Regions from separate parts of the Homo sapiens genome. Here region 2 is linked to region 1. Evidence: promoter capture Hi-C in 16 types of primary human blood cells and fetal thymus (Javierre and others, 2016). All regions are on one chromosome and are shown on one strand. Each heading gives the region's core, a stretch centred on a gene start or on the middle of the fragment in contact. The rest is flanking DNA. Distances are from core to core; before and after follow the strand shown. Region 1 holds the start of IL1B (interleukin 1 beta). Region 2 has its middle 19 kb from the start of IL1A.

The links. The method cuts DNA at HindIII sites, captures the fragments that hold promoters and counts their contacts. A CHiCAGO score of 5 or more calls a contact.
Region 2: a contact is called between a fragment that was not itself captured here and the fragment with the promoter of IL1B in region 1, in 4 of 17 cell types (M2 macrophages, monocytes, M1 macrophages and 1 more). The highest score is 6.7, in M2 macrophages.

The regions. Positions count from the first base shown.
Region 1 is chr2:112,835,369-112,838,068 of GRCh38, reverse strand. It overlaps IL1B (interleukin 1 beta), which reads left to right and starts at 1,290. Exons shown (of 7, transcript NM_000576.3): 1 at 1,290-1,361; 2 at 1,825-1,886; 3 at 2,452-2,503. The coding sequence starts at 1,840. The HindIII fragment of the contact is 1,771 bases long and covers 1,163-2,700 here.
Region 2 is chr2:112,801,933-112,804,632 of GRCh38, reverse strand. No RefSeq gene overlaps it. Among named protein-coding and RNA genes, the nearest start is that of IL1A, 19 kb to the right of the region's middle. RefSeq lists an enhancer at 723-782. The HindIII fragment of the contact is 4,248 bases long and covers 1-2,700 here.

The DNA of each region.
Region 1 (2,700 bases), core at 41-2,540:
AGTGCTATAAGAAGTGTTACAGGCTGGACACGGTGGCTCACGCCTGTAATCCCAACACTTTGGGAGGCCGAGGCGGGCAGATCACAAGGTCAGGAGATCGAGACCATCCTGGCTAACATGGTGAAACCCTGTCTCTACTAAAAATACAAAAAATTAGCCGGGCGTGGCGGCAGGTGCCTGTAGTCCCAGCTGCTGGGGAGGCTGAGGCAGGAGAATGGTGTGAACCCGGGAGGCGGAACTTGCAGGGGGCCGAGATCGTGCCACTGCACTCCAGCCTGGGCGACAGAGTGAGACTCTGTCTCAAAAAAAAAAAAAAAGTGTTATGATGCAGACCTGTCAAAGAGGCAAAGGAGGGTGTTCCTACACTCCAGGCACTGTTCATAACCTGGACTCTCATTCATTCTACAAATGGAGGGCTCCCCTGGGCAGTACCCTGGAGCAGGCACTTTGCTGGTGTCTCGGTTAAAGAGAAACTGATAACTCTTGGTTGGTATTACCAAGAGATAGAGTCTCAGATGGATATTCTTACAGAAACAATATTCCACTTTTCAGAGTTCACCAAAAAATCATTTTAGGCAGAGCTCATCTGGCATTGATCTGGTTCATCCATGAGATTGGCTAGGGTAACAGCACCTGGTCTTGCAGGGTTGTGTGAGCTTATCTCCAGGGTTGCCCCAACTCCGTCAGGAGCCTGAACCCTGCATACCGTATGTTCTCTGCCCCAGCCAAGAAAGGTCAATTTTCTCCTCAGAGGCTCCTGCAATTGACAGAGAGCTCCTGAGGCAGAGAACAGCACCCAAGGTAGAGACCCACACCCTCAATACAGACAGGGAGGGCTATTGGCCCTTCATTGTACCCATTTATCCATCTGTAAGTGGGAAGATTCCTAAACTTAAGTACAAAGAAGTGAATGAAGAAAAGTATGTGCATGTATAAATCTGTGTGTCTTCCACTTTGTCCCACATATACTAAATTTAAACATTCTTCTAACGTGGGAAAATCCAGTATTTTAATGTGGACATCAACTGCACAACGATTGTCAGGAAAACAATGCATATTTGCATGGTGATACATTTGCAAAATGTGTCATAGTTTGCTACTCCTTGCCCTTCCATGAACCAGAGAATTATCTCAGTTTATTAGTCCCCTCCCCTAAGAAGCTTCCACCAATACTCTTTTCCCCTTTCCTTTAACTTGATTGTGAAATCAGGTATTCAACAGAGAAATTTCTCAGCCTCCTACTTCTGCTTTTGAAAGCCATAAAAACAGCGAGGGAGAAACTGGCAGATACCAAACCTCTTCGAGGCACAAGGCACAACAGGCTGCTCTGGGATTCTCTTCAGCCAATCTTCATTGCTCAAGTATGACTTTAATCTTCCTTACAACTAGGTGCTAAGGGAGTCTCTCTGTCTCTCTGCCTCTTTGTGTGTATGCATATTCTCTCTCTCTCTCTCTTTCTTTCTCTGTCTCTCCCTCTCCTTCCCTCTCTGCCTCCCTCTCTCAGCTTTTTGCAAAAATGCCAGGTGTAATATAATGCTTATGACTCGGGAAATATTCTGGGAATGGATACTGCTTATCTAACAGCTGACACCCTAAAGGTTAGTGTCAAAGCCTCTGCTCCAGCTCTCCTAGCCAATACATTGCTAGTTGGGGTTTGGTTTAGCAAATGCTTTTCTCTAGACCCAAAGGACTTCTCTTTCACACATTCATTCATTTACTCAGAGATCATTTCTTTGCATGACTGCCATGCACTGGATGCTGAGAGAAATCACACATGAACGTAGCCGTCATGGGGAAGTCACTCATTTTCTCCTTTTTACACAGGTGTCTGAAGCAGCCATGGCAGAAGTACCTGAGCTCGCCAGTGAAATGATGGCTTATTACAGGTCAGTGGAGACGCTGAGACCAGTAACATGAGCAGGTCTCCTCTTTCAAGAGTAGAGTGTTATCTGTGCTTGGAGACCAGATTTTTCCCCTAAATTGCCTCTTTCAGTGGCAAACAGGGTGCCAAGTAAATCTGATTTAAAGACTACTTTCCCATTACAAGTCCCTCCAGCCTTGGGACCTGGAGGCTATCCAGATGTGTTGTTGCAAGGGCTTCCTGCAGAGGCAAATGGGGAGAAAAGACTCCAAGCCCACAATACAAGGAATCCCTTTGCAAAGTGTGGCTTGGAGGGAGAGGGAGAGCTCAGATTTTAGCTGACTCTGCTGGGCTAGAGGTTAGGCCTCAAGATCCAACAGGGAGCACCCAGGGTGCCCACCTGCCAGGCCTAGAATCTGCCTTCTGGACTGTTCTGCGCATATCACTGTGAAACTTGCCAGGTGTTTCAGGCAGCTTTGAGAGGCAGGCTGTTTGCAGTTTCTTATGAACAGTCAAGTCTTGTACACAGGGAAGGAAAAATAAACCTGTTTAGAAGACATAATTGAGACATGTCCCTGTTTTTATTACAGTGGCAATGAGGATGACTTGTTCTTTGAAGCTGATGGCCCTAAACAGATGAAGGTAAGACTATGGGTTTAACTCCCAACCCAAGGAAGGGCTCTAACACAGGGAAAGCTCAAAGAAGGGAGTTCTGGGCCACTTTGATGCCATGGTATTTTGTTTTAGAAAGACTTTAACCTCTTCCAGTGAGACACAGGCTGCACCACTTGCTGACCTGGCCACTTGGTCATCATATCACCACAGTCACTCACTAACGT
Region 2 (2,700 bases), core at 108-2,607, 34 kb after region 1:
TGTCTCCATAGGCTCATTTACATTTTCTAGAATTTTACATAAATAAAATGACAGAGTATATACTCCTTCATGTATGGCTTCTTTCAGCCCAATTATGTCAAGATTCATGCTTATGGCTGTGCGTATCCTTAGCCCATCTCTTTGTCTTGCTGAGTAGGATACCATTGCATAGACAGACCACAGCTTGCTCATCCATTCACTCTTGACAACGTTGAATTGTCTCTGTTTTTTGCAATGACAAATAAGGTTGCTATGTACATTCCTGTATAGACATTTGTAAAAGCACAGCATTTCATTTCTCTTGGGTAAAGACCTAGAAGTGGAAGGGCTGAGTCATATGGTAAATATATATGTCTAACTTTTTAAGAAACCGTCAAACTGTTACCCAAAGGGATTGTACCATTTTACATCCCCACCAGCAGTGTATGAAAGTTCCCGTTCTTCCACATCCTCACCAATATTTGGTGTGGTCAGTCTTTTTAATTTTGGACATGCTAATGAGTGCAAAATGAGGCCCAGAGTGTCTGAAGTTACATTTGTATCCTTTTTGGCATCCAAAACAGGTGTCAAGCATAGAAAAAACACTTGTTCCTTGAATGGTCAGTCATTTACAAGTGGAATTCATTACAAACCGGTAGTTCTACTGGGTTAAACTATGCCTTACTGTCAACAGGCACATACACATACAGACAGACAGGAAGGCACAGAGACAAGGCAGAGCATTGATAAGAAGGTGACCTGGGCTCTAGCTCTGGCCTATCACCTAGTAAAATATTAGTTAAGTAGCCATGAGTAACTCACTTAACTTACCACAGGCTCCATTTTCTTATCTGTAAAATAGGAACATTGAAACAGCTAATCCCCAAGGTTTGTGGATAATCAGAATTACAAAGATCAATGACATTTCTATGAGAGAAACATATTTCCAAGTATTTGATGGAGTACATCAGACACAAAGGAAAGGAAACTGAATATTTTTGAGGTTTTTTTTTTTTACCAAGAAATTCACATTTTGTTAAATTTTCAGAACTACCTCCTGAGGAAAGTGTAGCTGCACCCATTTAGAATGATAGAAAACATCAATCTGTCTGATTCCAAAGCCAAGTTCTTGCTACAACGAGAAATGAAACAACTGGATCCCTACAGATGCAGAGACCTGGGCCCCACAAATGTGAATTCTGTTCCCCTACCGAATAGAGTTACAGTTCCATAATACAGTACTCCCTCACTTTTCCACAGTCTCACATTCCACAGTTTCAGTTACCCACAGTCAACTGCAATCCAAAAATATTAATGAAAAATTCCAAAAATAAACAATTCAGAAGTTTTAAATTGTGCTCCATTCTGAGTAGCGTGATAAAATCTTGTGCCACCATCCCACCTGTCCAGCTTATCGTTAGTCATTGACATCGTCTGCTCCTGACATCCAACCATTGACATCATCATGACTCTATGATCCAGGATCACCGAAGCAGATGACCCTCCTTCTGACATATCATCAGGCCAATATCAGCCTAAACACTGCATCACTATGCCCACATCAGTCACCTCACTTCATCTCATCAAGGAGGCAATGGATCACCTCACATCATCACAAGAAGAAGAGTGGGTATAGAACAATAAGATAATTTTGGGGCAGGCATGGTGGCTCACGCTTGTAATCCCAATACTTTGGGAGGCCAAGGCAGGAGGATCCCTTGGGCCCAGGCATTCAAAACCAGCCTGGGAAACATAGTGAGACCTCCTCTCTCTGCAAAAAAAAATAAACAAAATTATCCAGATACAGTGGTGCATGCCTGTGGTCCCAGCTACTCAGGAGGCTAAAGTGGGAGGATCACTTGGTCCCAGGAGGTCGAGGCAGCAGTAAGCTGTGATCGTGCCACTGCACTCCAGCCTGGGCAATAAAGTGAGACCCTGTCTCAAAAAAAAAAGGTAATTTTGAGAAAGAGACCACATTCATACAACTTTTATTATAGTATATTGTTAGAATTGTTCTATTTCATTACTTATTGTTGTTAATTTCTTTCTTTGCCTAATTTTTTTTTTTTTTTGAGTCGGAGTTTCACTCTTGTTGCCCAGGCTGTAGTGCAATGAGACGATCTCAGCTCACCGCAAATCCCGCCTCCCGGGTTCAAGTGATTCTCCTGCCTCAGCCTCCCGAGTAGCTGGGATTACAGGCGCCTGCCACCATGCCCAGCTAATTTTGTATTTTTAGTAGAGGCGGGGTTTCTCCATGTTGGTCAGGCTGGTCTCGAACTCCTGACCTCAGGTGAGGCCTCAGCCTCCTAAAGTGCTGGGATTACAGGCTTGAGCCACTGCGCCTGGCCTCTTTGCCTAATTTATAAATTAAACATTGTCACAGGCATGTATTAATTTATAGGAAAATCATAGACATATAGAGTTGGGTACTATCCACAGTTTCAGGCATTCACTGAGGGGCTTGGAACATGCCCTCCTCAGATGAGGGGGGACTACTGTCATCTCCTCAATCATTCTTGATTCAATCCTCAACACAAATGGTTTGGCCAGGTCTTGCCTCTGGAGACAAAATTGCTAAGGATTTAGAGGGGAAAAAATGTAGTTCACTGGGAAAGTCACCTCTGCTCCACTGGACAGCAACTTAAAACCCAGGCCATGACAAGTAGAAAGGCCACCCCCACTCTCCTTCACACCTGGAGTATTCAGGAGTCAATCATATTT